4 separate regions of the Homo sapiens genome follow, and all the other regions are linked to region 1. Evidence: promoter capture Hi-C in 16 types of primary human blood cells and fetal thymus (Javierre and others, 2016). All regions are on one chromosome and are shown on one strand. The core of a region is centred on a gene start or on the middle of the fragment in contact, and the rest is flanking DNA. Distances in the headings are between cores, read along the strand shown.

Evidence for each region. Contacts are between HindIII fragments. The CHiCAGO score rates a contact against its expected background, and 5 or more counts as called.
Region 2: a fragment that was not itself captured here is called in contact with the fragment with the promoter of IQSEC1 in region 1 in 8 of 17 cell types (total B cells, naive B cells, M2 macrophages and 5 more); the score reaches 10.7 in total B cells.
Region 3: a contact is called between a fragment that was not itself captured here and the fragment with the promoter of IQSEC1 in region 1, in 1 of 17 cell types (naive B cells). The highest score is 6.9, in naive B cells.
Region 4: a contact is called between a fragment that was not itself captured here and the fragment with the promoter of IQSEC1 in region 1, in 2 of 17 cell types (naive B cells and total B cells). The highest score is 6.3, in naive B cells.

What each region holds. Positions count from the first base shown.
Region 1 is chr3:13,071,582-13,075,051 of GRCh38, forward strand. It overlaps IQSEC1 (IQ motif and Sec7 domain ArfGEF 1), which reads right to left and starts at 1,848. Exons shown (of 14, transcript NM_001134382.3): 1 at 1,411-1,848. The coding sequence starts at 1,433. RefSeq lists silencers at 1,764-1,923, 2,044-2,223. The HindIII fragment of the contact is 20,266 bases long and covers 1-3,470 here.
Region 2 is chr3:13,463,730-13,467,199 of GRCh38, forward strand. No RefSeq gene overlaps it. Among named protein-coding and RNA genes, the nearest start is that of HDAC11-AS1, 15 kb to the right of the region's middle. The HindIII fragment of the contact is 3,587 bases long and covers 1-3,470 here.
Region 3 is chr3:13,363,966-13,367,435 of GRCh38, forward strand. NUP210 (nucleoporin 210) reads right to left here. Exons shown (of 40, transcript NM_024923.4): 14 at 1,981-2,126. Among named protein-coding and RNA genes, the nearest start is that of NUP210, 55 kb to the right of the region's middle. The HindIII fragment of the contact is 7,208 bases long and covers 1-3,470 here.
Region 4 is chr3:13,337,776-13,341,245 of GRCh38, forward strand. It overlaps NUP210 (nucleoporin 210), which reads right to left. Exons shown (of 40, transcript NM_024923.4): 24 at 2,461-2,523; 25 at 2,079-2,258; 26 at 62-142. Among named protein-coding and RNA genes, the nearest start is that of NUP210, 81 kb to the right of the region's middle. The HindIII fragment of the contact is 3,961 bases long and covers 1-3,470 here.

The sequences.
Region 1 (3,470 bases), core at 598-3,097:
AGAAAATGCAGCGAGGGCCTTGCCACAGGGAGTGAGAACTTTGGTGTGCTCTGCTCGCATCGACAAACCAACCTGTGAGCTTCTCCACTAAAAAAGCAAGTGAGCATCACAGCGAACCAGAGGCCACCGTCATCCCTCGAACCAGAGGCCACCGCCATCCCCCAAACCAGAGGCCGCCATCCCCCGAACCAGAGGCCACTGCCATTCCCTGAACCAGAGGCCACTGCCATCCCCCAAACCAGAGGCCACTGCCATCCCCCAAACCAGAGGCCACCGCCATCCCCCGAACCAGAGGCCACCGCCATCCCCCGTGGGTTGCCGCCTGGCACTGCTGACGCAGCAGAGGCAGAGGTGTGTTTACTTTCCCTCAGTGGAGGTGACGGGGAGCTGCCACTCTATCAGGGGTTCCACAGGCCCCTGCCATGGTAAGGGGCCTCCATCGATTAGGGAGGCCTTGGGGTAGCCCCCAGAAGGCTCCCCACATACTGCTCCAGGCCTCCTTTTCCTAGCCTTGCGACTGAGCCCAGCTCAAGAGGACTCAGCCATGCTCTCTAACCTCCTAAGGTCTGAGGTCACTGCACAGCCCCAAATGAGTGGGTCCTGGGCAAATAGTTTAGGCAGGTGGAGACCTGACGCTGGGCCTCAACCCCCGCAGCCGAGGGTCCCAGAGGAGGGCAAAGGTTGCTCCTCCTAGAACAGCACAGTGCAGCGCCCAGAGAGCTGTGAGGGAAGCTGGCATTCGAACCCCACTGCCCCCTGGGAAGCCTGGCTAACCGAAGCGCAGGCTTTGGTTTCCATAAATACCCGGGCCCGTGATGTCACCGCCCCGTGCAGACTTTCACAGCCTCTGCTGCTGGCGTGAGGCCCAGCACACAGCCGCTCTGCTGCCAGCCCACAGAACACCTGGGCACACAGCTGGACACTGATGCCTCCGTGCTAGGGACGGTGGGCTGGACCTTCACCTGCCCTTGGAGGACGCAGCATCCTGGCCACTGCCTCAGCCTGCCTGCGACCTTCTATCAGGCATGGCTGAAGGGCTGGCCATGGGCGTGCTGGGCAGAGATTCTCTTCCTAAACAGGCTATGGGCTAAACCAAAGCCAAAACAGTAGGAGCCGGTCTGGGCACCCTGAATGTGGATCTGGGAGGGGGGATACCTGCTCTCACAGTTGGGAATTTCACAGCCTGCTGAAGACCTGCTGACTAATAGCCTTTTTCTCATCGTCATCACCAACAAACACCTCCGCTGCAGGGGCCGAGCGCCGGCATCCCTGCTGGGTGGCCAGCTCCCTCTGCAAGTCACCTGCACATCCACCTGCCCCTCCCCCAACGATGCCCCTCACTCCAGCTCCCAGCTCAGCCGGGCCCCTCTGGCCTCTGGCTTCAGGCAGAAACCTGCCACATATACTCACAAATAGCGTCTTCTGCAAGCCATCCTGTGTGAATCCGTTCTTCCCTGTTCTGGCTCCCTCTCCAGCGGGGAGGCTCAACGTGTTTCCAAGAGGAGCAGGCGGCTCAGGCAAGAAGTGGAGGGGAATAAAATTAAATCGCGGGGCGAGTCACATTCCCGGGGGTGGCGGGCTCCTCCAGGGAGGCTGGGGCGGGAGCGGGGGGCGGCGCCAGCAGCGGGCTGTGGAGGGCCCTGGCACGTAGCGCGCGCTCACACCGTGCCCAGGAGCGAGCGAGGACGTCGAGTAACCGTGGTCGCCAGGCTGGGCGGGGGCGTCCACCTCGCTGCTACCTGGGCCCACCTTGGGGTTTTTCCCTCCCGTCCATCCGGGGTGCGGGGCGCGGGGATGAGGAGGGGAGGGTCGAGAGAAGGCTGCCCCGGGTTTGCTCTCGCAGCATCCGGAGAAGGGGCGGGCGCGCCGGAGCCTCCCCCACCCCCCGCGCCCAAGGAGCAACGTAGTGCGGCCGCGCCGGACCAATCGCCGAGGCGCTGGTCGCCATGGCAACAGCAGCATCAGGCGCGGCCGCTCGGCTGCGCCCTCGCGGCAAAGTCACACACCCGGCGGGGCGCGGGGCGCCGGCCCCTTCCTGGCCCGCGCTGGAAACCTGGAAGTCTGTTGCTAAAATGCACGCGCCGCGCGGAGCCTACGATGACACTACTTTCCAAGGCGGCTTTTCTGCCTTCGGCACTGAGACACGCGAGCCGCGGAGCTCTCGGGGCTCTGGCCCTGGAGTGAGGCCGGCCGACTCCAAGGCTGTCTCTGCCACTGAAGGGCGATGAGACCTTGGCAAGCCGCGTCTCTCCTGGGAGTCTTGATTATGCTACTGTGAAAGGGATCATAACAGCTATACCACGGGGTTCCAGGAGGGCGCACCACGCCAGTAGCTGCACGGTGGATGGCAGAGCAGTCCTCGTTTGTGCCAGTCCTGTCCCAAAGGGGGCTGCACGTGGCTAGGGAGAATTTCTGGTCTAGCTATGGTGCCTCTTCCTCTCCCGAGGACCTTCCATGTGCCGGGCAAGTATCTGCCCTCATGATGTTTACAGTCTAAGGGGAAGCCAGGAAGTAAGTGTGCAGATATAGGATTGCACGTGGTGATAAGGATCAGGATGAAAAGAGAGCAGGAAGAGGGGAGGCAGGGACCCCAAGAGAGGCGGGAAGGAGGCTTCTGCCATCAGACGGGGTGGTCGGGAAGGCCCTCTGTGAGGCACGTGTGGCTGAGACTCGGATGACGCAAGAAGCAGGGGAGGAGCTGGCGTCAAGGCTCTGAGGCGGAAGGCAGCCTGGTGTATTTGACTGGCCCAGAGGAGGCCAGCGTGGTGCAGTGTGCGACAGGGAGGTGGAGGGGAGAAGCGCACATCCATCCTCGGCTCCCACACCCGCCTTTCCCACACAGATTTCTCTCTTCCTGTCTGATGTTCATCTGATCCTCTCTGCTTCCTCATCTGTAAACCAGGAATCCCAGACCTATCTCAGAGGCATGTAGATAATATTCTTCCGTGCACGGTAATCCTCAAGACAACCCCAATGAGGCCTAATACTATCATCCTACTTCACGGGGGAGCGCATTAAAGCCAGAGGTTCAGCAACTGGCCCAAGCCACATAGCTGGCGGGCAGTCTGGCTCCAGAGTCTTGGTTCTTGACTGCTTGAAAGCTGCCTCACTGGGAGGAATAAATGAGAGAGGGAGTAGTTGAGACTGGGAATCGGCTGGATGTGGATGGCAGCCCACAGGGCCATTTCCCTTCCTCTTTCCATTCTCTCCAGATTCACACTCACCGAATTTAGAAGGAGTGATGCTGCATCCTTGAGTTCCATTCCATCCTTTACAGGGGAGGAAATGAACCTCAGGGGGTGAGCGATTTGCCTAAAGTTGCACAGCAAAGAGTGGCAGAGGTGGGACTAGGACCCCAGTCTTCCAGCTCAGTGTCCTGGTAGGGAGCAGAGGTTGGAGCTGCGGCCTCAGGTGGCCAAGGTGAGGCATCGAACAGAACTGCATGACGCTTCCCGATCTGCCCTCTCCAG
Region 2 (3,470 bases), core at 467-2,966, 390 kb after region 1:
TGTCCATCAGTGGCAAGTGACAGAAAATCCAGCTCAAACTGGTACAGAGTTTACTGACTCGGAGAACTGGCTTCAGGCCCAGCTCAAACAATGCTGGGACCCTGTCTTCCTCACATGCCTGTCTCTGACTCTCTGTGGTGGCCACGTGTGGATTAAATGCCCACCCCTGGAGAACCTCCTGGATTGAGGGGAACAGCTGGTTCCCTGAGGACAGGTGCTGGGCTGGCAATTCCACCGACTCCCACCATTCTAGGGTTCTGGATGGTGGGAACCAAATGAAGTCTGCTCATCCCTGACCGCAGAGGCATCTCCAAGGCCCAAGTCAAGGTGAGAAAGATTCCACCTAAGCTGATGACTTTGATCACCCTAGATCAGCCAGGTCTCCTCCCAAATGGGATACCTGTCGGTGGGAACGTGAAAGTCCAGTCGGTCTAAGGGAATCGCTCCAGCTCTTTCTGACGTCAAGCCCAGGCATGACTGTTTCCCAAGACTGCACAAATTTTTTTCCTGAAGCATCAAATTCCTTATCAGTTCGTAGCAGTCCAAATTCAGATTCTTGATGGGATTTCACTTTATGGAAGGATTCTGTGAAAAATAGATAGCCTTGGGCTTTTCTTACAAATGTCTTTCCAATTGCACTGTTATCTCTATTTCCCATAATATTTGGTAGAATGTGTTGTATAACCTGCTTATAGCAGGTTCTTAATAAATGTTCGAGTTTATTGCAAACTTTGCAGTCTATAAAGGGATTTAAATTATGTCCTTTCACTAATCTTTTTTTTGAGACAGGGTCTGGAGTGCAATGGCATGATCACGGCTCACTGCAGCCTTGCCCTCCTGGGCTCAAGGGATCCTTCCACCTCGGCCTCCTGAATATAGCTGGGACTACAGGCCTGTGCCACCATGCCTGGCTAATTTTTGTATTTTTTGGTAGAGACGGGGTATCCCCATGCTGTCCAGGCTGGCCTCAAACTCCTAGGCTCAAGCAATCCTCCTGCCTCTGCCTCCCAAAGTATTGGGATTACAGGGTGAGCCACTGCCTCCGGTCTCTTTCGCTAGTCTTGAGAGAGAACTAATTAGTCCTGAGAGATGACCAGTCAGTGATTAATATATCCATTTTCTACTCTGGGCAACTGAGGTTCAGAGAGGTGAACTGACTTGCCCAAGATCACACAGGCTGGGTGGCAGTTCTGGGATTCACACTCAGGACTGCCTCACCCTCAAGCTGTGCTGTGTATGCTTCATCAGGCTGCCTCCGCACAGCAGATGGAACAGAATTTTTCCATGTGGGGTAGGATTGTCAGATAAAATACAGGATGCCTAGTTAAATTTGAATTTCAGATACCAAAAAAAATTTTTGGTATAAGTATATCTCAAATACACTTACTGCATGGGACACACTTATACTAAAAAATGGTGTTGCTTACTGAAATTCAAATGTAACTCAGTATCTTGCATTTTTATTTGCTAAGCCTAGTGACCCTAATTTAGAGGAGAAACCGTAATTTAATGGTCACTGAAGCCCCTAGAGTGACAGAGGTTTCCCAAGATCACACGGGGAGTTAGTGGCAAATCCAGGATTGGACCCAGTCTTCCTGTTCCCCAGTCCCAACCCTCTTGGGGTGGTTGTGAAGCCCTCTGAAGTCCCTGGAGCAGGCATGGTGGTAAGAACAGCTGCTTTCTCTCTGCAGAGGCTGTCCACATGGCCCATCCTCTCCCCAGCTGTCCCACTGGGCAAAACCAAGAAGTGAATCCCTGCATGGAAGAGATGAGAAGAGCGAGGTCACAGCAATTTAGAGAAGATGGTGTTGATTGAGATTTCCAGACAGGGAGCACGGGCTGCTCAGGAAGCAGCTAATTAAGCAGGAGACTCCAATTAAGAAGCAATTTGGGTCTTTGCAGCAAGACCCAGCAGCCACCCAAGTGTAGCAGAGAAAACCACAGGCTCGGGTTCTTGCTCCCCACATTAGCTGACTGTGAGATCTCAGGCCAGCTATTGAGCCTCCCTGGACATCTGTTTTTTTTGACTATGAAATGAGGGGTCATGCTGCTTAATATTGAAGGACCCTGCTGACTTCAAAGTGGGCAATTCCAGGGAGTGGGAGGATTCTTTCCCTCCAATGCTGGAACATTTTCCACTGCATTCTAGTGTCTTTATCACCCTCTTTGCATTCCACTGAAGGCCAATTATTCTCTCAGTTGTAGTGGATTTGAATTCTAGTCTATAAACTAATTTGCGCACAAATCGTACCTTTCTTTATTTTTTATATCCTATCTTAATTTCTCTTTCCAGATCTTATTCCTGTAGGGTGGCAACTCAATATTTCCCTTCTTCCTATTTCTAGGATGCGCCTACACTCTCCAGGGATTAAATGTGGTGCTAAGTCATGGGTGGGAGGGGTCAGTAGCCTCCACTGAGGTATCCTCGGTACCATCTGGGCCTCAGGAGTGGTCTTTGCTGGTTGTCACGGAGATCACATTCCCATCTGCCGAGGATGCAGCCTGGCACAGTGGCTCATTCCAGCACTTTGGGAGGCTGAGGTGGGCAGATCACCTGAGGTCAGGAGTTCAAGTCCAGCCTGGCCAACATGGCAAAACTCCATCTCTACTAAAAATACAAAAATTAGCTGGGCATGGTGGCACGCACCTGTAGTCCCTGCTACTCAGGAGGTGGAGACAGGAGAATTGCTTAAACCCGGGAGGCGGAGGTTGCAGTAAGCCACTGCACTCCAGCCTGGGAAACAGAGCAAGACTCTGTCTCAAAACAAACAAACAAACACACTTCTTATTTTTATCCCTTAGTGCAAGTATCAGCCTGGAGCCAGCCAGGAAAACACAAAGCTCTCTCATGGAATTTAATACAGGGAATTGGTTGCTCTGGTGGTGGAGGCAGTGGCAGTGAGGTTAGAGGGATTAGTTCAGCAGGAGGCCACTCCCATTCCTAGGAATAAAGAGAAGGTAATAGGTGTGACCCAGGAGTTGGGGTGCCCCGTAGGAGCTAGAGCCGTAGGAAGGGTCTTTCTGGTAGGCGATGGGACCACCGAAGTTCCCAGGGGGACAAGGCAGAGCTGAAGCCACAGAGGAGAAGACCCTCCCTCTGCTGGAGATGTCAAAGGGCACCCAGGGGAGAAATGCCCTGCTTTATCCTCTCTTCTCACCCTCTAGCGTTCCAGCACCAGTGGCCACTGACTGAATAAGAAGCCAGAGGACAAGGGCAGGGCAGAAGTGGACCCGAGTGCCTGTGGGCAGTTGACCAGCATGCTATGTGTGGCTTTTATAAGTAACAAGGGTCAGTGTTTACTTATAAACCTGGGCTCCACTTAGTTTTCTTGGTTAAGATACACATTTCTCCTTTTCCTCGGAGGCATCCGGGAATTAACTTCTCTTAACTGCAAAGTACTCTACTTGTTGGCTTAACTATTTCCCTATCCTTTGGCATTTGGGTCCATTCCAGTTTTGTTGCTTCTACA
Region 3 (3,470 bases), core at 688-3,187, 290 kb after region 1:
GGGCAACCCCAGAATGCCTGCTGTGCTCGGGGATTTCAACTCTCTCCACTCTGCTCTCTGACACTCTCACCTGCTGCAGTGCTGTGCTTGAGTTGGGATGTGGGGGCAGGTCTTGATCTCCTCATTTTAAACTTCCACCCCCATCACCCCTTCATGCTCTACTTTTTTCATGGCAAGCAGAGGTAAAATACATTCTTTGCTTTGTTTATGGTCATCTCTACCTCTCTTTGCCAGAATGTCACTTCATGGGGACAAAGGTTCTGTGTTCTCTGCCCTGGTGCAACTCTAGGGCCTGCAGAAGGGATTGCACAAGTAGGTAGGTATTCATGCCTGTGTGCTAAAGGAACAAATGTGTGGAGGATGAGGAGCAGGGCTAGGCCTCTGATCACTAATGGACATCTGAGAAGTGTCTGTTATGTTTGCTCTGGAGGTCAGGAGGCCTTGGCTTCTGCCCTGGCTGGGTGACCTTGGATACATTTCCTCACACGTTCATTCTAAACAAAACCACCCTTGGTTGATGTCTGCTCTGTGCCAGGCACTGAACCCAGGGCTAGGGGTTCAGAGATAAAAGATCCTAACATCGCCAGGCACGGTGGCTCACGCCTGTAATCCCAGCACTTTGGGAGGCTGAGGTGGGAGGATCATCTGAGGTCGGGAGTTCGGGACCAGCCTCACTAACATGGAGAAACCCTGTCTCTACTAAAAATACAAAATTAGCCGGGGATGGTGGTGCATGCCTGTAATCCCAGCTACTCAGGAGGCCGAGGCAGGAGAATCGCTTAACCCTGGAAGGCAATGGTTGCGGTGAGCAGAGATGGCGCCATTGCACTCCAGCCTGGGCAACAAGAGTGAAACTCTGTCTCAAAAAAAATAAACAAATAAAAGAAAAAGAAAAAGAAATCCTAACATCACCAGGCTTGCTTCCAATGAATGCCTGAGAGGAAGAAAAAAATGGGACAAACCATGAGGACCGGAGCTGTCTTCAAGGCTGACACTGGGAGCAGAAAAATGCAAGGACTGCCTGACCAAGCCAGGGAGTCTGGGGCTCCCCTAGGACTGCTCTCCAGCCCTCCCTGGAAGGAGGAGCAGGAACTCCCCATCAACAAACCCTCTCTGCGCCTCCTGCAAGCTAGGCAGAGTTCAAAGAAAGGAATGATTAGTCAGCAGCCTCCTGCATGGCAGCCCTCGCACGGAGCCTTCACACCCACCCCAGAGGAAGGCCCAGTTCTTTTTTATCCGTGTATAATAACTAACCCTTCCTGAGCCTGCACTACCCCCTAGACTGTGTTCTGAGCTCATTCCATTTGTGAGCTCAGCAAATCCTCATCACGACCCCATGAGGCAAGAGCTGTCTCAGTCCCATTTTACAGGCAGGGAATGTAAGGCCCAAGAGTGGGTGGGGGTCAGGCTGGTCTCAGCTCAGGAGGGTGGTATGGACACTGAGGCTATGTGGTCTGCTCCGCACAGGCCGTGGCCACCACTGTCCTCAGATGGGGAGCAGGATGGATGCACACTAGGCCAGGGCAGATCCTCTCTGACCCCAGTCTTGGAGGCCTCAGCATCTGCCATACCACACGGCCGCTGTCCTAATTCTAGGGCTCTGTGGGGACCCTGAAGGTTAGCTCTGGAGTGGAGCAGAAGCACTCCCCTGTTCTGACCCTTGCTGAACACACTTCTGAAGCCCTTGCAGCCCACACTCCTACCTTCGTTGGGAGAGGCTGGCAGGTCGGTGTCCTGCCAAGCCTGCCAAGCGCTGTCTCGCGTAACCACAGAGATGCCCACAACCACTGCCCCATCAGGGAGGCTCTGCTCCTTCCACATGAATCCTGCTTTCAGCCAGAAATCATGGGAGAGGAAGCTGTGCCAAAAGCTATTTTGAAGGAATCGGGTTTATCATGCAAATTCGTCAGAGCAAATGGGTAATTTGCATCTGGGAAGGAGTGGGCAGGGGGGTGGTAAAGGGCAGGGCCCCTGGCTCACCTTGAGGGGCAGGTAGGCAGCAATGGTGATCTTGGCACTCAGGTGGACGTGGCCGTGTCTGTAGCTCACAAGAAGCGTGGTAGAGCCCTGGGCCTCGGCCTTTACCCGGATGCCGCTGCAGTGCTCAGAGCCTGGCGGCAGCCTCCCTACAGAAAGGAGAGAACTAGATGGTCACCCTGAAATCACTTTTTTCTTTTTTTTGAGATGGAGTCTCGCTGTGTTGCCCAGGCTGGAGTACAGTGGCATGATCTTGGCTCACTGCGACCTCCGCCTCCGGGGTTCAAGTGATTCTCCTGCCTCAGCCTCCCAGATAGCTGGGACTACAGGCATGGACCACTACACCCGGCTAATTTTTGTATTTTTTTTAATAGAGACGGGGTTTCATCATGTTGGCCAGGCTGGTCTTGAACTCCTGACCTCAAGTGATCAATCTGCCTCAGCCTCCCAAAGTGCTGGGATCACAGGTGTGAGCCACTGTGCCCAGCCCTGAAATCACCTTTGGTGGGGAAGGCACAACAGGCTGGGGGCCCCCTCTTTCATCCCAGGCTTGATCCTTGATCTGATTTCTTTCTTTTTTTTTTTTTTTTTTTGAGATAGAGTCTCACTCTGTCTCCCAGGCTGGAGTGCAGTGGTGCTATCTCAGCTCACTGCAAGCTCCACCTCCCGGCTTCAAGCGATTCTCCTGCCTCAGCCTCCCGAGTAGCTGGGATTAGAGGCATGCGCCACCACGCCCAGCTAATTCTTTGTATTTTTAGTAGAGATGGGGTTTCACCATATTAGCCAGGATGATCTCAATCTCCTGACCTCATTATCCACCCCCCTCAGCCTCCCAAAGTGCTGGAATTACAGGCATGAGCCACCGCACCCGGCCCTGATTTTTAAAAAAATATTTAATTCAGCCAGGCACGGTGGCTCACGCCTGTAATCCCAGCACTTTGGGAGGCTGAGATGGGCGGATCACCTGAGGTCAGGAGTTTAAGACCAGCCTGACCAACATGGAGAAACCCTGTCTCTACTAAAAATACAAAAAATTAGCCAGGTGTGGTGGCGCATGCCTGTAATTCCAGCTACTCCGGAGGCTGAGACGGGAGAATCACTTGAACCCAGGAGGCAGAGGTTGCAGTGAGCCGAAATCGCACCATTGCACTCCAGCCTGGGCAATAAGAGTGAAACTCTGTCTCAAAAGAAAAATAAAAATGTTTAATTCACGGCCGGGCATGGTGGCTCACACCTGCAATCCCAGCACTTTGGGAGGCTGAGGTGGGAGGATCACCTGAGGTCGGGAGTTTGAGACTAGCCTGACCAACATGGAGAAATCCCGTCTCTATTAAAATACAGAATTAGCCGCGTGTGGTGGCGCCTGTCTGTAATCCCAGCTACTTGGGAGGCTGAGGCAGGAGAATTGCTGGAACCTGGGAGGCGGAGGTTGCAGTGAGCCGAGAACGCACCATTGCACTCCCACGTAGGCAACGAGGGAGCAAAACTCAGTT
Region 4 (3,470 bases), core at 412-2,911, 270 kb after region 1:
GACAGGGTCCCAGCAGTGGCTCTTCGGGAACCAGGATTCAGAGCCCAGGAGGTCCCCTCACCTGGGTGCCCGTCCTCATCCGCATGATGGGGGCGCGGATCCTCACGGCCCTTAGCAGCAGCACCTCCACCTGCACGAGGTCCTGGGGAAACAGGGTGGCACTTAGGTGTGGGGATGCAGTGCTGGCCAGGGATGTTTCAGGAAGGGACCCCTCAAGGGAAGCAGGCTGCGGCTCAGAGTCTGTGGCGAGAAGGCCCCTCAGGATGACCAGCACCATGCTCCTCTGCCGAGGGAGGCCTGGCTTTGTGAGTGGCTCTCCCCTCATGGGCCAGCCACTGCCTCTCCCAAGGCCCCGCAGGTCCCAACCCAGTCCCCTGAGGCTGCTGCCCTGTCTGATCCAGCTGTTCCAGGTCAGCACTGCAGACTTGGGGCCGGGGACTGGTGCCTGCTCTTCCTTAGGCCTGGCTGCCCTCAAGCAAAAGGTCTCCAGGCCCTCCCAACCCCAAATCCAGCCTGCCTGTCTCTGACTGAGCAGGGTACAGGGACGAATGCAGGAGCCCTGTAGAGTCTGATCAGAACTTATAACCTCCTTCATTCTGAACTCCACACTCCTATTAATCTGGCCAAAGACTAACTCTCCTGGCTTCTTCCTAGTGCTGCTGAGTCATGCTGAACTGAGGCTATTAAAACCCTTAGACTCTCTGACGTGCTCAGGCTGAGCCCATCTTGAGGCTCATGACTTGGGCTAATGCCTGGCACACAGTAAGTGCTTGAAAAGCACCCATTCCCCTCCTTTCACTCATCTTTCTGCTCAGTCTCTTCCTGCTAGTCCTGGCCCACCCCACGGCCTTGGGGTGCTGGTTGTGTGCTCTGGATTGGACAGATGGAACTGGAAGCATCTGACCAGAATCACATTCCAGGCATGGACAAGGCGCCGCAGGTGAAACCTCTGCCTGCCTGGGCTCAGAACATGCCTTTCAGATAGGGCTCGTGGTGCAGCCCCTCCACCTGCCAAGGACCACCAGGGCCTTTCCCCAGCACCTCCCCAACCTGCCAGATGGGGGACCTAGAAGGGAGGGTGCCCAGCAAGGTTAGACCACAAAGACAAGGAATACGCAGGGCCCTGTGCCCCTCTTGCTGAATTTCTAGCCAGCTGCCCTTTACCTACGCCCTCAGGAGAAAAATCAGCCAGCTCCTGAGGCTGCACTCCTTTTTAGAGAAAAAAAACCACAGAGTCTCCTGTGGTCTGGAATGTCACGCTCCAGGAAGCCCATCTGAACCCTACCCCATCCCCAGGACAGGTTTTTACATCCCCAAGTCTTTCTCTTTGTCTTCATAATTGACACACACTGGGAAAAGGAGTAAATCAATGAACTCAATGACGGATCACAGTCAGCCTCTGAGAACAAGCATTTCCCTGCACCCCCTCTAGGGCGGTGCACTTGCCAGCTTCTGGGGTGCTGTGTTTACAGGTTCTGAACTCAGGACTGCACGGACTGCTTCCAGGGGACCTAGTTCTCATGAGGAATGGTATGACTGACTCTGAAACAGGTTTCTGTCCACAGTTGCATTACACATCACAGAAGGCTCTTCTTACAGACCAGGTTTCTGGCGCAGCTGTGAGTGGAACCCCAAAGCAGCCTTCCGAGATGCTTCTGCAAGTCACTGCTGGCGAAGGAGGTCAGGGAGAATGCAAAGGCCCTGATTTTAGCCCTGAGCCTTGAGAGGATTCAAGGAGATGAAGGCAAAGTGCTCAGAGCAGCATCTGCCTTCACCATGATTGCCATCATCCTCCACTGGAAGGGCCCTTTGGGGCCGGGAGTTGCTGAACACCCTGTCCCATAAGGAGCAGCTGGAAGGACTGGGAGACTCAGCTTGGAGAAGAACAACCAATGGGGGTCTGGGTGCTCCCATATTGGCAGGGCTGTCCTGCACCAGGGCCCCTGCAGTGACTGCAGACCCAGGGGGCAGAAGCAGCACCCTTGGAGAGGGGTGGTCCTCAGAGGTAGAACTCAAACACAGTAAAGAGGCTTCTGTCCCAGGCACAGCTGCCCAGTCTCCAATAGCACGCCTGTTACCTGAGAGATGATGACCACCTTGCCGGTCTCTGCATCCACTGCCTGCACGAGCCCAGACACAGTGCCGTTCCCGATGGCGAGGCCCTGTACCAGCCCAGCAGCGCTCACCAGCGCAACGCTCTCATTGCTGATGGAGAAAAGGATGTTGGACTGAGGCTGGGGGCCGCCCTCGGAGGTGACCTGAGCGGGGAGGAAACAGCGGCGTGTCAGTGCCCGTCATGCCAGGCAGCCCGCACCTCCCACTCAGAGAGCCAGGGCCCCAGTGCAGGCAGCTTCTGCCTTCTTCTCCCAGTCACTGCACGCAGGGCCAGAGGCGGCGTGCCTGGAACCAGGTGGTGGCCTGCACTGGGGCTGGAGCAGGACGTGGCCTCTTGGCTCTCACCTGCATCGTGGCCCCGATAAGCAGTGTCACCTTCCTGGGCATCAGCCTGAACGGGGGAAAGACCTGTTGAGAGACACAGGAGAGAAAGGACTACTGTGCCCCAAGCCCATGGCGCCAAGCATAACTCACACACTACATGTTTCATGAGAGGAAAACCTGGGACATGGACATCACTTCTCTCTGAGCAGTGACCAGAGGGCCCAGGGTCCTGGGCCAATGCTGGGGGCTGTCTCCCAGCCACTGGCCGAGGCTCCCTGGTTCTCTGGGGTGTGTTCTTCTGTTTGTGACTGTGTTTCACTTTCCCTAGATGTTAAAACCCAAAAGCTGGGCCGTCCCCTTGGAGGGATGGCTTTTATGCAGTTGAGCCATCCCCTTAGAGCAGCGGTTCTCAGTGTGTGGTCACTAAGCAGCAATGTCAGCAGCGCCTGGGGACACATTAGCAATGTACAGCCCCAGCCACCTGGCCTGTGGAGCCAGGGGTGGCCCCACAGGACAGCCCTGCCGATATGGGAGCACCCAGACCCCCAGAGGTTGCTCTTCTAGCACACCCTCCGGATTAGCCTGGGAGGAGACCAGGGACGTTGGTGCCACTCTTTGCAGCAGGTGAAGCCCCCACCTGCTCCTCCTGAAACCCCTACAAGAGCCTGCCTGGCAAGAGTAGGTGAGTGGACGCAGGAGGTGGCCAGGGTGCTACTTGTGTGGGAGTATCGGTCTCTGTAGCTGTGCTATTGATGGGCAGAAACAAATTTCTCATCACCAGAAGAAAGGTGCACCTCCATCTAGAGACACAGATGGCACCCACCTGCTTCGGATCACAGATTAATGACGCTCACCAGCCCCCGAGTGGCCCGGATGCAGGGTGGATGCTGGCAGGGCTGGTTTAATGCCGCTGCTGTGAATAGACTTAAAACAATGCCTGGGCCACAACTGCCATGGCCTGTGGCTGCAGTGGGGCTCCTGTCATAACCTAATGCCCCGAGACAGCCCCATACCACACACTGAGCTGGTGT